Regions from separate parts of the Homo sapiens genome. Here region 1 is linked to region 2. The links are contacts of gene promoters, found by promoter capture Hi-C in blood cells and fetal thymus (Javierre and others, 2016). All regions are on one chromosome and are shown on one strand. Each heading gives the region's core, a stretch centred on a gene start or on the middle of the fragment in contact. The rest is flanking DNA. Distances are from core to core; before and after follow the strand shown. Region 1 overlaps MAD2L1 (mitotic arrest deficient 2 like 1). Region 2 holds the start of BBS12 (Bardet-Biedl syndrome 12).

Region 1 (5,158 bases), core at 673-3,172, 2.7 Mb after region 2:
AACAGAAGTTAGATTATTGATGGTGCAAATTTTCTTGCACATAGGAGGAGGTCCCAGATAGCAGTGGTAGGAATTTGCTGAGGATAGGGAGTGGGACCCGAGAAGAGAGCTACTTTATGATGCAGTGGACCAAGAAAGATGCCTTCCTTTTTATATGTTGCAGATTGGTTATACAAGTGTTCAGTTCAGAAACTGGTTGTAGTTATCTCAAATATTGAAAGTGGTGAGGTCCTGGAAAGATGGCAGTTTGATATTGAGTGTGACAAGACTGCAAAAGATGACAGGTAAATAGGAATTACATTATTTCTACTTTGATATATTTTTTTTCAAAACTTGTTTTTATTACTAATTGAGTTCTAATTGTATTGAACTAGTTTTATATAAAATATAGTTTGTTTCTAATTTATATTTTCTAAGATATCCTCAGTCACCTATGGAAAAGAATTGTGCTCAGTTTAGCATATCATTGATTTGTATATATAATATAATTTTAACATAATTGCCTTTAGTCTAAATCAGTAGTTTTCAAACAGTATTTATGGTGATATATACAAAACTACACATGATATACTAGATGAACCATTTAATAATTGTTCTAAGATATTTTTAACTATAAGGAATGATATTAGACTCACACAATTTAAGATGTAGCTCTGCTGTACTTCCTTTAATGCCATCTACTTCCTAAGACACTTCATAAATTTCTGAAGGTTCCAGACTCCCTGGAAGAGAAATGCATTGTCCTAGGCATGCTCTTCTATAAACTGAGAACCATTTCTTATAGTGAAATGTAGTTTGCTTCTGAAGGCTTTGGTGTATTTTAGGAAATTTTTAGCTTATAAAATAATTTGATATACAATTTAATGTTTTATTTGAGAAAATAGGAAATTAGACATTTAGGCATTACTAAAAATGCTGAAATGATTATACCAATACATATTTTAGATATCACTTATTTTTATTTCAAGAGATGCTGAAGTTTCCTGAACTTGAAGTGATTGGCAAATTTTCTAGTCATCTGATACTAAATGACCTGACACTAAGACCAGCTCTAAAAGATGACTGGCAGGATAAATGAAGTAATAAGGATGAATGTTGTGCCTACTAGGTTGTAGGTCTGAAGGATACTTTCACTCACATTTTTTACAAACCTCCTTTCTCAAATAAGCCCTGCTTATTTGATGTTGAGAGCATTTAATCAGATAAATAATCTAACCACTATGTTTGAAATAATTTGTTAAGACCTGAAATGAATTAATTGATTTGATTTTTTTTTGACAGTGCACCCAGAGAAAAGTCTCAGAAAGCTATCCAGGATGAAATCCGTTCAGTGATCAGACAGATCACAGCTACGGTGACATTTCTGCCACTGTTGGAAGTTTCTTGTAAGTATTATACAACTTCTTGTTGAATTAAATTGATTGGCAAAAAGACTAAGCTACTGCCGTAATCACCCCTTTATTAAATTTTGTCTTATTTATCAGATTTATGTAATATAAATTGAAGGAAAAACATTATCATGCAAAAGTAATGTATCGTAGTCTCCCTTTCCACAGGGAGACCCACAGTGAATACCTGAAACCATGGATAGTATGAACCCTATATAATGTTTTTTTCTTATGCATACATACCTATGATAAAATTTAATATGTAAATTAAGCATAGTAAGAGTTAATAATAAACTGGAACAATTATAACAATATGCTGGCATCACTATTCTTGTGCTTTGGGACCATTATTAAATAAGATAAGGGTTACTTGAACACAATCACTAAATTGCACGGAAGTTAGATACAATATTTTCTTTACTGAAATAAATGTTCATTGAGCAAAATAAATTAACTAGTGATTGGAGACCAAGCCAAATGACCTTTTCCAGCAGTGAGTGGTTCAAAATAGAAGAGAGGCAGCAAGATTAGTTTTACTTTTAGAAAATAATATACTTCAATGATCTTATCCCCAATTTAGGTTCATTTGATCTGCTGATTTATACAGACAAAGATTTGGTTGTACCTGAAAAATGGGAAGAGTCGGGACCACAGTTTATTACCAATTCTGAGGAAGTCCGCCTTCGTTCATTTACTACTACAATCCACAAAGTAAATAGCATGGTGGCCTACAAAATTCCTGTCAATGACTGAGGATGACATGAGGAAAATAATGTAATTGTAATTTTGAAATGTGGTTTTCCTGAAATCAAGTCATCTATAGTTGATATGTTTTATTTCATTGGTTAATTTTTACATGGAGAAAACCAAAATGATACTTACTGAACTGTGTGTAATTGTTCCTTTTATTTTTTTGGTACCTATTTGACTTACCATGGAGTTAACATCATGAATTTATTGCACATTGTTCAAAAGGAACCAGGAGGTTTTTTTGTCAACATTGTGATGTATATTCCTTTGAAGATAGTAACTGTAGATGGAAAAACTTGTGCTATAAAGCTAGATGCTTTCCTAAATCAGATGTTTTGGTCAAGTAGTTTGACTCAGTATAGGTAGGGAGATATTTAAGTATAAAATACAACAAAGGAAGTCTAAATATTCAGAATCTTTGTTAAGGTCCTGAAAGTAACTCATAATCTATAAACAATGAAATATTGCTGTATAGCTCCTTTTGACCTTCATTTCATGTATAGTTTTCCCTATTGAATCAGTTTCCAATTATTTGACTTTAATTTATGTAACTTGAACCTATGAAGCAATGGATATTTGTACTGTTTAATGTTCTGTGATACAGAACTCTTAAAAATGTTTTTTCATGTGTTTTATAAAATCAAGTTTTAAGTGAAAGTGAGGAAATAAAGTTAAGTTTGTTTTAAATTTGTCTTAAAACATTTTGATACTGGTTTGGTGTTGATATAGTTAAATGGTAATTAGAATTGATTCAGCATAGCTAATGAATTCTTGTTCCTACGAAGTTATAGAACTTAAGGGTCCAAAGTTGAGTGAGTCTTGAGGTGTCTTCAATCTAATGGATAAACTTTGATCACATCCTGTTCATCTCATAGCAATAGACTTAAGGCTATTACTTCATCATTGTGAAAAGATAAATGTCCTTTGGAATTAGTCCAACAATTCCAGTTGAACAAGTGTTGATTTTAGTACTTTACTATACTCTTAGCCTTATTGTCAGCCTACTTTTCCTTATATACTTAAATACTATGCTTATTCCTGTGCTTTCATTAATACCCTCATCTGGTACATGCTTTCTATCCAGTTCTCACCTGTTTTTCCAAGGTCAGTTTAAGGCAGATTTGTAAAGTCTTCTCTAATCTCTAATCTAAATCTGACCTCATTTTGTAAAAATTCAGTTTATTAATGTTTATTATTAGACACTAAGTTCTTTATGTGTATTAACTTATTTAACCTTCACTATTTTTAAGTAATTGCACATAGTCTGAATCTGTTCATTCAGAAATTACATATTGAGCAAATACTGTGGATCAGTGGCAGTTTCTGGGTTCTCAGTGACAAATTTGTAGACTCTTCATATCTTTATGGAATAAGTGGACCACTGGTGTTACCAACCTAGATGATTTCAAGAAAAGTGGCAATTAAATGCTTCATTTGTATTTTAACTATTTGAGAAGTCAGACTAAATTCTGCGAAATCACTTTTCCCCCCCAAGATGGAGTCTTATTCTGTCGCCCAGGCTGGAGTACAGTGACGCAGCTCAGCTCACTACAGCCTCTGCCTCCCGGATTCCAGCCATTCTTCCGTCTCAGCCTCCTGAGTAGCTGGGATTACAGGCACGTGCCACCACACCTGGCTAATTTTTATATTTTTAGTAGAGAGAGGGTTTCACCATGTTGGCCAGGCTAGTCTTGAACTCCTGACCTCATGATCTGCCCGCCTTGACCTCACAAAGCATTGGGATTACAGGCGTGAGCCACTGCGCCCGGCTGAAATCACATTTTTAAAGGTTGTGTGTATACTCTGGTCATTTCAACTCAGCTACCAATATTAACAGGATTAAATTCTTAGATTTTTGTATCATTTGCATGCTACTATTTACTCTGAGGTTTCTGGAGAGCTAGTCATGATGAGTCATTTTACCCCTTACAGATTATATAATCAATTAAGAAATACACATTTTGGGCTGGGCGCAGTGGCTCGCGCCTGTAATCCCAGCACTTTGGGAGGCCGAGGCAGGTGGATCACGAGATCAGGAGTTTGAGACCAGCCTGGCCAAGATGGTCAAACCCCGTCTCTACTAAAAATATAAAAATTAGCTGGGCGTGGTGGCGGGCGCATCTCAGCTACTTGGGAGGCTGAGGCAGGAGAAATCGCTTGAACCCATGAGGTGGAGGTTGCGGTGAGCCAAGACCGTGCCACTGTACTCTAGCCTGGGCGACAGAGCAAGGCTCCATCTCAAAAAATAATAAATAAAAAAGAAATACACATTTTGGAGCTGAGTGGGAGCCAAACTATGAGTTTTATTGAGGTGAAGCTATACTGGAAAAGCTTTGCCCTGTAGCTCCAAGTGGACTGTCCCATCCTCTTTCTAGACCTTGAGGCTTACCTCAGGAGGATGATGTTTAAATCAACAGCTGAAAGACTTGTGAGTGGTTTCTACACCATGTTAAAGAGAAGGTTCTAAGACAGCATGATAGGCCTCTAGGCCTGGCCTGGACTCTGGCTCAGTGTTGCTTACCATATGTAGAGGATGAACAGAGGTTAAGCCCATCAAGGTCTGAAGTAGAGCCCAGGAGGAACTGAACTGTATCTGGCTTTCAGGATCCTTTTCCCAGTGTCATCAATCAGAGAAGTCAAACCTCTGTGAGAATGCTTGTGCAGAGGTATAACAGTCTCATGTATTGGTTGGCTTTTGCTGCACCTTTCTCATTCTGTTGGAGGGACATTGGTTAGTCAGGACTCTGAAGGCCAGCTTTTTCACACTGACCAAAGCAAGTGAAGGTCAAGCCTAACTTTAATGGGACCAGGAAGTATACTCCTCCCATGGAGGTGGTGGGAATGGCACCGAGAAGTTTGATGACAGTTATCTAATGGACTAGAGGTTGGCAAACTTTCTGTAAATGGCCAGGTAGTAAATAGTTCTGCTTTTGAAGGCATATGGTCTCTTGCACCTACTCGAGGCTGAAAGCAGCTATAGACAATACATAAATGAATGAGCGTGAGTGTGTTCCAATAAG
Region 2 (4,745 bases), core at 1,834-4,333:
AGAATGTAATTTCCAGGAAGGCAATTTTAGTCAATGATGTATATCCCGAGTACCTACAATATTGCCTGACACACAGCAAGTACTCTATAAATATTTGGTAAGTGAATGAATTTTTTTCACCATATTTGTTCCCCCAAATTTAAGTACAAAACTGAAGCAAGAGAAAACAGACGGTACTTTTAGTATTTCTCCAACATGAATATAAGTTTTAACCATCCTTGGAGTTGACTTGATTCCTATTTGGCACCGCCTTAGTTGAGGCCCTTTAATTGCTTCTAATGAGAGTTCCTCCTTCATATGGTGGTCAGAATTAGCACTGAAAAAGCACAAACCTAAACAGATTACTCCACTGCCAAAAAACATCTATTTATCTTAAAAAAGAAAGTCTTTACTCCTTGGCTTGATATATGTGCCTTATAATCTAACCTCAACCTAATTTATGACTCTTCTCCCACCTTTCCTTATAAACCTCATGATCTTGTCACGCTAGAACATATTTATTTTCACTAAGCTATACTGATTTGAATAGTCTATATTTTCTTCATCTCCATAGATGCTATAGATCTTTCATGACCCAACGCAAATGCCTCATTTCCTATCAGGACTTCTCTAATGCCCTGGGGTAGAGTTGTCCCTCCTTTCTGTGCTCCCAACGCACTTTCTATACCCATCTACCAAAGCAGATTAAAAATACCCTGTATTAAAAACATTGTATTATGTTTGTGTCTAGCTCCCCCACTAATCTGTAGATTCCTTAGTTATTCATCTTTTATATTCTATTTTTATTTCTTTCGAACTCACCCAGTAGTTGGCATAGTGCATGACATATAGAAAACATTAAATACATTTGGGAGATTTAAGAGTGCCTATGTGTTTAATGTTTTCCTGGATAATGATGATGATTAATGTTCTAAAGTGCAGTTAGATTCGTTAATAGCTAGTTTTCAAAACTAATTACATCCTATTCAAGATCTGGGAGTTGGAATCTGAGCCTACAATTAAAAAAACATTTTAACTAGCAGTAAATATTCCAAATATAAAAGCCTAAATCATAGTGATATAAAAATAGGTTAATATACTACTCCGCCATTTAATTGTCATTAGATCAAACATGATCCAAGAGATCCTCGAAATTAGGATTGGGTTGAGTATATACTTGGTCACTATTCATTTCTGGGTCTAAGAAATCCTTTTAATATTAGTATTAAAAATGAAGTATATGGCCGGGCGCAGTTGCTCACGCCTGTAATCCCAGCACTTTGAGAGGCCGAGGCGAGCGGATCATGAAGTCAGGAGATGGAGACCATCCTGGCTAATACGGTGAAACTCCGTCTCTACTAAAAATACAAAAAAATTAGCCGGGCGCGGTGGCGGGCGCCTGTACTCCCAGCTATTCGGGAGGCTGAGGCAGAAGAACGGCGAGAACCCGGGAGGTGGAGCTTGCAGTGAGCCGGGATTGAGCCACTGCACTCCAGCCTGGGCGACAGAGCAGGACTCGGTCTCAAAAAAAAAAAAGTGTATGACCTTGAAACTGATCAAGAGCAACTTTCCAAGTGAGATAAATGACGTGAAAAATCATATATTAAAGTGACCACATTTTACTTAACTCAAAAATTATCTTGGATTTGTGCCATTTTAATTTTCACTGGGTAACTTTATATGGAAAAATCACCTGCAATATGAGGATAAACTTACCTATTTTCCAGAAGCCTAATGAGATTTTTATCAATGATTACAATACTTGCGTGTCTGTCTGGGATATAATATGAACAAGACAGGCTGATGGCTTTGGAAAATGTGCCATGTTTCTACTCAATGAAGCATGAAAAGTGATTTGACAGAGTGCTTCAAGAATGCACTTTGCACTTGTTTTCCTCTCCTGCCTTCAGGAAGATAAGTGAGACAAAAAAAAAAAAAAAAAAAAAAAGACTAAAGTTAGTATTCTTCCTGAATCCATTTTTGAAGAATCCAGTATAATTTTTAGAAAATATTTCCTCTAGAGAAGACATTGTAGGAGGCATAAAAGGGGTCCGCATGTGTGAGCAATTAAAGGTTAGAAGTTTTAAGATTCTCTCATTCCTTCATTCCCACCAGGAAGTCAGTGGTCCATCCTACCTCAGTCTTTCTCCCCTGTCCTTTAAGCTGATTCCTGGCCAAATTCAGAACGGGCAGAAGCAGTAAATCTGGCCCTCTGGACAAGAGATTGAGTTGGTTTACAAAAGTTTCACAAGTATCTAAATCTAGGCCGTTACTGAATCAACTGGATAATCAGACTACCTGTGTCTGACTCTGAAGTGCAGATCAAGTTGATATCGTTGACAACTGGCCAAATCTTAGGACTGGGCCAAGGAAATGGCTGGATGTGTGTGTGTGTGTGTGTGTGTGTGTGTGTGTGTGTGTGTGTGTGTGTTGGGGTTGGAGGGCGGGGTCCGATAGTAATTATGGGTGGGGCCAAAGTCCTACCTCGTAAACAAATGCTACACGAAACATGTAAAAACGTTTATCTATGTATGTAGTGAAGCTTTAAATACATCCCAAGACCCATGCTTATCCCAATACCCACGTCCCTCCAACGACACTGTTACCCCATGCCACTGCTATACAGAATTCTGGTGTCTACCATGCCAGAATCCCTGCCCAAAACAGGGAGGAGGTAAATGGCTGAAGGCCCAGCTCCAGGCACTGTAGAAAATGAGGAAAGTCTAGCGGCAAAAAGAAAGGGCAGTCCCCTCTTCCTCTAGTACTCCTAGCCACATGCTGGACCAATTCACCCCAGGACCTCCAGGCCCTAGATTCTCATTCTTTCCCTGGCCCGAAGAGGACAGAAAAATCAAACACACGGGCTCCCACGTCTTCAGGAAAGACTTAGCTTAGCAGTCAGCGGAAGCACCTCACTACTAACCTCGCTCCTTTCTCCTCTCCTACAGGGGGCTGGAGTTCCCGGCTTCCCACCGGCCAGACGCGATTCTGGCTGGGACAGCAACACCAAAAACGCCAGGGCTAGGGAGCCCAGTTCCCCGTCCGCAGTTTGCGCATGTGCGAAGAGGGGCTTCTGGAGGAGCCGGGGGCTTAGTTGCTAAGAGACACAGCTGGAGAGAGAAGTTCCGCTTAACGCCGGGCTGCGAAAGGCGGGGACGTCACGCTATTGGTAGGGAGTAGAGAGAAAGGGCTGGTTTAAAGGCCTTTTTTTCTGTCCATTGGATGAACTGGATGTCAATAACTCAGGCTGGGTGGGCGGGGCTGAGAGAGGTCGGTGAGAGCGGCCTTAGCAACCGCCAGTGAGCTGTGAAGACTTGGGTTGGGCGGGGCTGCGGGAGGTGACGCCGGGAGGTCCCGGCTGAGAGCGCCGGCTGCCGGCTGGGGACCTGGTGAGTGTGAAGCTGTAACCTTCTGCTGGGGCCGGGGCCGAAGTTTTTCCGCCAGAGCAAGGAAGGCTGCCCCTGGCAGCAACTGCACTCCTTCCTTACTCCTGTTGAGATTCATTTTATAGTAGGAAATAGGTACTTTAATATAGTTTATCATCAATTATTCTGGTTCTGCTAACTATTCCAGTTATATAATTTATCTTTCACCCATATGTGTGTGTATTACAGGCATCTAACTACCATACAAGTTCAGACCAATGGAAGAAAAGAGCAGCAAAAATTGAACTGAATGAATCCCAAAAGCAAGAAATTAAAGACGCCTTTAATTTATTTGATATTGATGGGTCTGGAACCATCGATGTAAAAGAAGGTTCTGAAATTATTTCTAATTCTAAATCATTTTAAAAACCATATTATTTGTGGCAATCTTTAAGGCTTTCTTTAAAAGTAGTCTTCTGAAAGCTTAATATAAAGTCTCTTCAGTGCATATGCCTGCCCTGCATTAGCAAAACGATATCTTGTTAAGCATTTTAATTGTGTTTTATAAATGAGTAGGCAAAAGCCCAGGGTGTAACAGTGATGTACATGATGGCACAGTAGGACTGAAACACAGGCCTGCTGACCTAATTTTCTGTTTATGCTCAGTCCATAATAGAAAAGAGAGAAGCTCTTAATAGGGAGTTAAAAAGCTTAGAAAGAAATCATGGCATATTATAATTCCTTTTCTTCCTATTTCAGATTGCAGTGTGGGCCTTAGGATTTGAACCAAAGAAAGAAGAAATTTAAAAAATGGTAGCTGAAGTTGATAAAGAAGGAATTGGCACCATTAGTTTTGAAGATTTTTTTTTGCCATTATGAGTATAAAAATGATATAGTTATGATTTTATTTTTCAAAGAAATACTAGCAATAACCTGCTACATTTTAGGGCTGGAGCAATCAGAAGTTTTATAGAGAAGCAATTAGAACTAGGTTTTTAAGGATGGGAGATAGGAAGAGCAAGATTAAATATGTTTTCAGGGTAGTAATGAGAAGACTATGATGTGGAGAAGAGGTTTTTGTCAGGAAATAATGAGGCTATATTGCAGGATAGAGAGAATGGGGCCAGAATTTGGAAGCCTTTAATTCAGCAACATATATTGAATGCCTATTTTTGCCAGGCACTATTCTAAGGAGCATTGAAAGATACAACCTTCCATTTTGAAGCTTACATTTTTGGTAACGGATCTGAATTATGAGGTTTAATAAGAGATGCATTCTGGACCACCCTGTGCCTTCTCCACCTTAGCAAGCTCTACCTTTAAGCACCTTGAGGGCAGGTGTGAGTACATAATTGTTAAAAGACCAATAAATAAAATCAGAACACAGCTACTTGGCACATT

The links. The method cuts DNA at HindIII sites, captures the fragments that hold promoters and counts their contacts. A CHiCAGO score of 5 or more calls a contact.
Region 1: a fragment that was not itself captured here is called in contact with the fragment with the promoter of BBS12 in region 2 in 1 of 17 cell types (naive CD8 T cells); the score reaches 7.8 in naive CD8 T cells.

What each region holds. Positions count from the first base shown.
Region 1 is chr4:120,057,101-120,062,258 of GRCh38, reverse strand. It overlaps MAD2L1 (mitotic arrest deficient 2 like 1), which reads left to right. Exons shown (of 5, transcript NM_002358.4): 3 at 164-284; 4 at 1,282-1,385; 5 at 1,969-5,158. The coding sequence ends at 2,141. Among named protein-coding and RNA genes, the nearest start is that of MAD2L1, 7.2 kb to the left of the region's middle. The HindIII fragment of the contact is 5,099 bases long and covers 1-4,471 here.
Region 2 is chr4:122,731,042-122,735,786 of GRCh38, reverse strand. It overlaps BBS12 (Bardet-Biedl syndrome 12), which reads right to left and starts at 3,083. Exons shown (of 2, transcript NM_152618.3): 1 at 2,903-3,083. It also overlaps the pseudogene CETN4P. RefSeq lists an enhancer at 2,624-2,833 and a silencer at 3,194-3,413. The HindIII fragment of the contact is 1,306 bases long and covers 2,524-3,829 here.